2 separate regions of the Homo sapiens genome follow, and region 1 is linked to region 2. The links are contacts of gene promoters, found by promoter capture Hi-C in blood cells and fetal thymus (Javierre and others, 2016). All regions are on one chromosome and are shown on one strand. The core of a region is centred on a gene start or on the middle of the fragment in contact, and the rest is flanking DNA. Distances in the headings are between cores, read along the strand shown.

Region 1 (4,792 bases), core at 1,672-4,171, 3.8 Mb after region 2:
TAAAACAGGCTGGGCACGGTAGCTCACGCCTGGAATCCCAGCACTTTGGGAGGCCAAGGCAGGTAGATCACCTGAGGTCAGGAATTCAAGACCAGCCTGACCAACATGGAGAAACCTTGCCTTTACTAAAAATACAAAATTAGCAGGGTGTGGTGGCACATGCCTGTAATCCCAGCTACTCGGGAGGCTGAGGCAGGATAATCGCTTGAATCCAGGAGGCAGAGGTTATGGCAAGCCGAGATTGCGCCATTGCACTCCAGTCTGGGCAACAAGAGTGAAACTCCCTCTCAAAAAACAATAAACAATAAAAAAATAAAATGGGGGAAAGAAGCCATTTATGCACACATTAATTTATGCACACATGAAGTTTCTCTCTATATAACTAATCCGGCAAATCAGTTCACATTATTTAGCTTTATAGTATCTAGGAAAGAAGAGGCAGATACTATTATCTCCACTGTACAGATAGTTGTGATTTACTTGTGGCACAATTTAATGGTTTAACATAAATAAAACACCTCACATATTTCCTAGTACTCGCCATTATTATTGTACTTAAGCAAAAAGGTTAACTTTTAGAAATGAATTGTAAGTAACTTTTAAATCTCTCTTAGAATTAAAAAAAAAATTCCTCATGAAGTTCAAGTTATAAGAAAAAGAATTCTTAAACAGCCAGGTTAACAAAAAAAAGAAAATAAGAAAAAGAATTTGGCCAGGCCCAGTGGAGGAGGGTCAGAGGCCAGGAGTTCAAGACCAGCCTGGGCAACACAGCAAGACCCTGTCTCTACAAAAAATTAAAAAAATTAGCCAGGTTTGGTGGCACATCCCTGTAGTCCCAGCACCTCAGGAGGCTGAAGAGGAAGGATCATTTGAGCCCAGGAGGTTGAGGCTACAGTGAACCATGATCATTCCACTGCACTCAGCTTGGGCAACAGAGGGAGCCCCTGCCAGAAAGAAAAGAAAGAAAGGGAGGAAGGAAAGGAGGGAGGGAAGAAGGGAGGGAGGGAGAAAGGAAGAGAGGAAGGAGGGGAAGAGAAGAAAGTGGAGGGGAGGGGATGAGAAGGTAGGGGAGAGAAGGGGAGGGGAGAACAGAGGGAAGGAAGGAAGGGAATTCTAGCCAGGCATGGTGGCTCAAGTCTGTAATCCCAGCATTTTGGGGAGGCTGAGGTGGGAGGATCGCTTGAGCCCAAGAGTTCACGACCAGCCTGGGCCATATAGTGAGACGTCGTCTCTCCAAAAAAAAAAAAAAAAAAAAAACCTTAAAAAATTAACCCAGCATGGTAGCATGTGCCTGTAGTTCCAGCTACTTGGGAGGCTGATGTAGGAGTATTGCTTGAGCCTGGGAGGTAGAGGTTGCAGTGAGCTGAGATCACACCACTGCACTCCAGTCTGGGTGACAAAGCTTATTCATTCAGGGAAAACATAGGAAATGGTTTCTCTTACATAACTTAAGTTTCAAGGAAACTGACCTCATGGCCCTACCTCAGAATTAAAAGAAAACATTTTCATTAGTAATGTTATTAATAAAATATTTTGTCTAAATTGTTAATATAATTAAAAATGAATTGTTTTATTTTCCCTTTTATACACAATCATCAAAAACCAGCCAAATGTCCCTAAACTTGATTTTTTGCTGCTACAAACATAATCATTTATTCCAGTAGTGAAAACTTCATTATTTGGGGCTTAACTTTCCATTTTAAAAGATATTCCCTCTGCCTTTTGCTTCTCTGGCTCTCTCATCATTCACTTGTCCTTGTTACTTGTTAATACCACTGCCAGGAAGCACAGCGCAGCACAGCACAGCACAGCACAGGACAGGACAGGACAGGACAGCACAGGACAGGACAGCACAGCACAGGACAGGACAGGACAGGACAGGACAGGACAGGACAGGACAGGACAGCACAGCACAGCACAGCACAGGACAGGACAGCACAGCACAGCACAGCACAGCACAGCACAGGACAGGACAGGACAGCATAGGATAGGACAGGACAGGACAGCACAGGACGGCACAGCAGGCTATTCTGGTCAATGTTCAGTAAGCAAGGCTGAAACTAATGGTTGTAACACCCCATTAGGTGATCTACCAGTGAGTTCAGACAGAAACTACCAGTAATGACCTTAAACGATAAGGAAGACAATCTAGTCCTTCCTTCAGATAATGATTACGGAGTGGCTCAACAACTGAATTTCTTTGGACAAGTAAGGACAAGCTCAGCTAGAGAACCCAGGAGGTTGAGTAACAAGACGTTGTTTTCTTCTGTGAGACCAATGCACGGATTTTAGAAAGAGAGTAAAGGTCATTTTGTACCAAAAACTAAATAAATAAATAAATAAAATTTAAAAATCTACAATATCTGCCTTACTTAAGAGATCAGAAATGTTAATTTTTTTAAAAAAGGATGACAATTTCTTTCTTTTTTTTTAACCAAGAGACAAAAGCAAGAAAAAGATGGCAATTTCTATTGCTGTTCTCAGGCTTCAAAACTGGCAGATACGGGAAAAAAACGTTAATACAGAGAGTTAGACCTACCATACCCTTGACTGAAATGAACATCATATAGCAGGACTTACATACAGACACAAGTAAGGAAATACTGATGGCCAACACCATAGAAGTAATCTTTGCATACTCTTTTAATGAATAGTCTTACAATTCAAAAGAATGGAAACTCAATTACTATTACAGGGTTTTATCATTAGATATTCATGGTAGCCTCTAATCTTGTTTTCTTTCATCCCTGAGATTCCCAACTATTACATTAAACAAAGCTCAATTACCTTTCTGATAATCATTTTTTAAAAAGAAAAGAAAAAAGCAAATAGGAAAAAAATATATATATATATAATATATATATATATATATTTTTTTTTTTTTTTTTTCTGAAACGGAGTCTTGCTCTGTTGCCCAGGCTGGAGTAAAACGGCACGATCTCAGCTCACTGCAACCTCTGCCTCCTGGGTTCAAGCCATTCTCCCACCTCAGCCTCCCAAGTAGCTGGGATTACAGGCGTGCACCACCACACCCAGCTAATTTTTTGTATTTTTAGTAGAGATGGGGTTTCACCATGTTGGCCAGGCTGGTCTCGAACTCCTGACCTCGTGATCTGCCCACCTTGGCCTACCAAAGGGCTGGGATTATAGGGATGAGCCACTGCGCTCGGCCAGGAAAATATTTGAAGAGGAAAAACAGCTATAGAAACTCAGGTCTCCACACAGAAGGATTCTACTCTGCACTTGTTCACTGTCTCTGAATGACTGTTACCTACATGAAAGTTCCTGATTTTTCCCCCTTGGGGGAGTTACTTTGAATTGCTGGCAAAGACAGACTGGATATAGGTCAAATCCTATTATCAGGAACTAATTAAAGTACAAATTATTTGGGTGTGGGAGAATTCTACTGTGAGTTATGAGGCTAGGGCTCTTTGTTGTTGAGGCTTTTCTCTTAGTGTGACAACTGTTAAGGGTCAAAATCTCTAGGTGCATAACTTAATAGCAGCATTACTTTATATTGGTTTCCTTTCCCCAGCACAGAGCAGCCTTCCAATTGCACAGAAAATGTATCCTCAGTCTGCGTACTGAAGCACTCTTTCATGAAATCAAAAATTGTAAAAAAGTTCCAGAACACCCAACTCCCCTTCCCTCTCACCACAGGAGCTCTTTTCACAACAAGATAATGAAAAGTAAAAACACTGAGAAATGGGATTCTGCATACACATACCTTACATATTTTACATGCTTAAAGTTTCTCTTAAAAGGCATTTGAATTGAAGCAACAAAATATGTTTATCTTAAGGACAATTCATGGTTTATAAACTACCAGAAAAGAAGTTCGCTGCTGAAATACAAAACAGTGAGTTCAAACATAGGCTTTCAAAAAGCCACGAAATTTCTAACAAATACAAATGAGTGTGTACATATATGACTATGTGCACATATGTACTGTTTTGCTGGGGACAGGGTACACAGCTTCCTCAAAGGGACCCTGATTTGGAAACAGAAAGGTTAAACCAGTATAATCAACTAAGGTCATTTTAAATTACTGTTTAAGTAAATTTAATTACACAGCAGATACTAGGTTATTTAACTCAAGCAGTGAAAACAACAGACTATGTGACCACACTTCCTACCTCTGTGTCCCAGGAATCCTGAAAGACAGGGTTTCTGCTACTTCTTTTGGTCTGGGGGGGAAGATGGTTGTCTTCTTCGTTGCCATTCCTTCTCCTTTTCCTGAAATTAAATCACAAGGAGAAAAAAAAAAAAACCCAAACAACCGATGTTTTGGACACTTGAATTGCAAACCATAACAACATATAAATTTGCCCTCTGGCCTGAGAAAACATAATTCAGCATATGATATCCCAATAGGTTATCAGTTGGAAGTACAGCATCACTGGACACTAAGAGCAAAAATACAAGACAGCAGCAGCGAGGTCAAGCTTAAGTTAGTAAAACTCATTTCTAAAAAGAAGCTTAACAATTTTAAATGTCTGTTGGGACTGAAACAAGAACAGGAAGAGGTTAATGACTAAGCTTTCAACCTCTAACCTAATTAAGGTTTTCTTCTTTTTACACTCCCTGAAATTAGGATTCCGAGTTACCTAATTGTACTCCCTTCCATATGACAACATTTGATATAAGAGTGGCTGCCTTTGCCTATTTGCCCTGAAAACCCTTATAAAAGTACCTCTTGGTCACATTCACCTGCTTATTCTGGCAACACTAGCCGGTATTATGATATAACAATTACTTCACTAGATTGTTACTATGAGATGATAGCATAAGC
Region 2 (4,796 bases), core at 128-2,627:
TTTGTCCACACCTCCTTGAATTCCTCAATTCCTCCCTCTGTCTTAAAAGAACATTTCTGAGTCTGTCTGCTCCATGAAGTATAAGTCCGAGCTCATTTTTGCCCATGCCCTGCTCACTCCTCTCCATTCCTTGCAGTGAATTGTGCTAAGCATCTCTGGCTTCCTTGTGAAAAAGGTGATGCCGTTCTCCATCAGGGTGCTGTGTACCCACTATGTGTGAGCGGTACAGAATGAATGAACATCCCAGGGCCCTAGAAAGGCGCCTGGCACATCCTGGACACTCAACAAGTATCTTTTAATTTTAATGAATAAATTCAAGATATTCGACTGTATTCATTTTCCACCCACTTTCCCCCTAGGCCAGGGACTCTCCTCCCAGGTGAGAAAAAATCATCTAGATACCTTAATTTTGATAAAGTTAGCGTTGATGTATAAAAAGCAGAACTTCCTCTGTAACCCTGTGAGAAATGAGAAGCCTCCAATCTTCTTCCCCACACCTACCCCCTACTGAGTTTCGGGTTCCTTGGAAATAACTGACCTGGATTGTTTCTGACAAAATAAAACTTTGCATCTTCTCCACAGAGCAAAGGTAACCTTACCTCCAGCCAACCCAATCATCCATACATTTTTCTTACTAGAAAAAATGTTTTTAAAAATGGAGGTGTGGCCGGGCGCGGTGGCTCACGCCTGTAATCCCAGCACTTTGGGAGGCCGAGGTGGGCGGATCATAAGGTCAGGAGTTCGAGACCAGCCTGGCTAAATGTTGACACCCCGTCTCTACTAAAAATTAGCCGGGCGTGGTGGCGCATACCTGTAATCCCAGCTACTTGGGAGGCTAAGGCAGGAGAATTGCTTGAACCCGGGAGGCGGAGGTTGCAGTGAGCAGAGATCGCGCCACTGCACTCCAGCCTGGGCGACAGAGCGAGACTCCCTCTCGGGAAAAAAACAACAACAACAACAACAAAAAAACCCCCAAACAAACAAAAAACGGAGGTGTGAGGGTAAAACGTCTACAGGCAAGAACAGCACAACAGGTGCTGAGCTGCAAAATCAACACACTAAACTCCCAAACAGACCTTCTCGACAAGCCAAAAGCTCTTTAGCTAACCTAATATTCTTTAGCTGTTGTTTCAGAGGCTTTTCGAGAACAAAACTGCCGCCCCGTCTTGGCCTTGCCGCTTTTCACCCATCACTCTACTGAGTGTGTGTCTGACTTGTTTATCTGGACGCAATCTTTGTCGCACCCAGTTATCTCGCTCAGCGACCGGGGCGACCACGTTTCCTTAAATCAGAGCCCCGTGGACTCCGCCGGAGAACTACATTACCCAGCGGCCTTCGCGCCCTTCGCAGGAAGGACGTCTGCGCACTAAGATACTCAGTTCCAAGTTTGGAGCTTTTAGCTGCCAGCCCTGGCCCATCATGTAGCTGCAGCACAGCCTTCCCTAACGTTGCAACTGGGGGAAAAATCACTTTCCAGTCTGTTTTGCAAGGTGTGCATTTCCATCTTGATTCCCTGAAAGTCCATCTGCTGCATCGGTCAAGAGAAACTCCACTTGCATGAAGATTGCACGCCTGCAGCTTGCATCTTTGTTGCAAAACTAGCTACAGAAGAGAAGCAAGGCAAAGTCTTTTGTGCTCCCCTCCCCCATCAAAGGAAAGGGGAAAATGTCTCAGTCGAAAGGTAAGAGGCTGTTTGCATTAGTTGCAAAAATGCAAAGGGTTGTGCATGCATTTATGAATGCATGGATGCAATTTTCGCCTGGCGAGTGCATTTTTAAGTTTGAGGTTTTCCACAGCTCAGTTGCATTTCCTGTTTAGTATGTGTCTTTTTTTGCAGACACAGAGAGTTCCTGTAAGGCAGGGCTTGCAGTTCAGCTGTGCATTGACGTTATTTGCATTCTTCTGCTAGGATTACTGAGCTCTTTTTGCCTTTTGCACAGTCAGGAGAGACAGAGCAGGTTGGTAGCGTCTAAATGTGCAAGGCTTTATATAATTGTAAAATTCTTTACTATGCACAGATATTGTAAGTAATTTTGTATGCAACAGGAATAGAAACTTTTAAAAACTCTATAGGTGAAGATGAAAGGTAAAACTTGAGTTAAACTACTAGGAAATTAATGTAATCTTATATTCTTTGGGGGAAATAGACCGTTGCGGTGCCAGTATTTAGCTAAATTTCCATTGATATCGCCTTGAACATTAGGTAACTTTTGATTTTTAAAGGAAGTAAAGGTGAAGGGTGAATAACAGCATATCACAAAAAAGCAGACGAGTCTTGCTCTTCTGAGATTTTGCACTTTACACCAATTGCTTATTGGCTCGCAAAATTTAGAAGCAGCAGTGAAGACCTAATGTTTTATGTCTGCCCATTTGGGGGATGCTTTGCATCTTGGGGGAAAATATTGGGGGTAAAACTGTACTTTTAAGCATTACAGTAGTGTGAAGGGACTGCACTGTTTCATTGACAAGCATAATGAAATATTTTAAGTGTGTAACTGCGTGTATTTAGTCAGCTGTAATAGGTTGGAAGTTCACGTTATGGTTGTTTTCTTTATGTTCTTTTATTTTCTTTTCTTAATTTTTGTTTTTAAACACAGTTGTATTTTGCAGGCTTAATGTCACCCTGGGAAGGGGATTTAAAAAATTCCTGATATGACATCAAAGAGCAGACTAGGTGCTGTCAGGTGCCCCTGGGACCCCAAGTCACTTGTTTCAGAACAATTGTTTCTTTACCATAGAGAAAGCATATGCCATATGAGAAGTATGGGATGATGAAGAGAGGTGTTAGATACTATTGAATTAGGCTACCCGGGGCACTCTTTGAGTAAGACATGGTGAAATTAAAGGGTCTAACAAGCTTTTTGCTACTTTTTTGGGAGGGAGTGTGGGGAGTTGTTGCACCGCTTTTTAATTCTACCTGATGGGAGTCATATATCTCAGCAGCCCAAGAAGGAAGTAGTAATCTCAAGCATTCAAAGTAGCACTCTGCTTTTCTTTGAGTATTAGGGGAGAATGGAAATCTGAAAAGTTAAGAGTGCTGAAGAACCTAGGAATTGACATATCAGGTGGAGATGTTCCTCAAGTGGGGAAAACCTAAAAATCTCCTTATTGAGTAGAGAAATAATAGTTCAGAAGAGGCAGTCCATGCTTTGATGTATTAAAGAGATGGCATTTAGTTACTTTGTATTTGGTAAACATTCGCTCATTCATTCAATTCAGTTTAATATATGTGTAATATATTGTGATATGCATGTATATACATATGTATGTGTGTATATATATGCATGTATATGTATGTATTGTGTGTGTATGTGTGCACATGATTTAGGGACACACAAAAATATTTAAAATGAAGTTTTTCCTTCGGGTTGGTGAAAACAAGAATGTAAGGAAATCATTATAATACAAGATAATAGGACAGGTATTGAAGAGAAATGGTGCTATTGGAGTTTAAAAATGGAAGTGATTTATCTATTTGGGGGATAGTCAGGAAGGTTTATGAAGAGGGTGGTGTTTACTGTGATCTTATCTTTGGACTTTAGGGTCTAAACTAAATCAGGCTCCTTTTTGCATATTTTTGGGCTCACTATGAACGTGGCTCCCTCTTAGTAGAGCCAGTTTTTGAGTTGAGAAGCCAAAGGAGATATTAGCACTGCACTCTTCCCTATGGATGTGTTTACAATGGATCAGGTACTGGTGGTCCTTCAAATCAATTCCCATTTACCCAGATGAGTTTTCTTAATTGGATTCTGCTTGGAAAGTACATCTGGAATGAACATGGGGTTCTTGTCCGAAAGGAAAATTATTGGTAGAAAGAAGTGGGTGATCATTTTAGAAATGGCAAAAGAGCCAGCCGCCTTGGCCTGGACTTTAAATGTGGAATTGGCCTTATTCAGCTACGCTATTCTCAAATGGCCAAAATACTTTTTGCAGTACCAAACTTCTTTTTTAATATTCTAACCCAAGAAATGGGAGGAAAAGTGAAAAGTGGATACAATCTCATAGTATTGAAGAATTTAACAATATGTTCAATTCAAGGACCTTTACGAACTTTCTAGATCACTATAATTCGGTTTAACAGACCTCTAATTTAAGGCACAGCAGAGGCAAAGGAATTACAGACTCTCTGGAAGCTGGAAGGACTGGGTTACTGCTCTACAGCCTTACCAACAGTGAGATTCCGAGAAAGAATTTCTTAAAAAGAAATTTTGTTTTCCACAGTTGTAACTTTAGGTGGTATGCTTTTCAGCTTGTTTATATTAGCTGTCTGGGGTTGAGTTGACATTTTTCAAATATTAAAGCAGTAGAATGCCTTTTGAGGAAATCTGAAATGTAAGTTAACAGGAAGGGCACCCAGAAAGTGCAGGAATTCCTGCACACTACAGGAAGACAAGCTACAGGAAAAATGTGTCATCTACACTACCCGGGAGAGAAAAACTATTGTTATCAGCCATAATGATCTCCGGAGGGAGGGAGAGAAAGAGGGAGGTAGGGAGATCTGGCATCCCCCAGTTCACCTGAAAATACACAAAAAGTTTGACCCTGTTAAAATACACTTTTCTCACTTCTCCTCCTATTCACCTTTAAAAAATATTAGTTTATTTTAGTTTTAGAGAGCAATAAGTAAATCATGTAAGAAATGCCTATGAGGCACAATTCAGAAGCATATAGCAGAGTGGTAGGAAAGGTCTTAACTCTACTGGGGTTCTTTGCTTCTGTAATTCATTCCACCCTTGGGAAATGAAATGTGTAAATTTCTTGTTCTCTATAAATTCCTTTGTTAGGTTGTACCAGAC

The links. The method cuts DNA at HindIII sites, captures the fragments that hold promoters and counts their contacts. A CHiCAGO score of 5 or more calls a contact.
Region 1: a contact is called between a fragment that was not itself captured here and the fragment with the promoter of MAP2K6 in region 2, in 1 of 17 cell types (total CD4 T cells). The highest score is 7.5, in total CD4 T cells.

What each region holds. Positions count from the first base shown.
Region 1 is chr17:73,223,029-73,227,820 of GRCh38, forward strand. It overlaps VCF1 (VCP nuclear cofactor family member 1), which reads right to left. Exons shown (of 4, transcript NM_001098832.2): 2 at 4,137-4,236. Among named protein-coding and RNA genes, the nearest start is that of VCF1, 7.0 kb to the right of the region's middle. The HindIII fragment of the contact is 3,043 bases long and covers 1,401-4,443 here.
Region 2 is chr17:69,413,320-69,418,115 of GRCh38, forward strand. It overlaps MAP2K6 (mitogen-activated protein kinase kinase 6), which reads left to right and starts at 1,378. Exons shown (of 12, transcript NM_002758.4): 1 at 1,378-1,681. The coding sequence starts at 1,666. The HindIII fragment of the contact is 8,167 bases long and covers 1-2,855 here.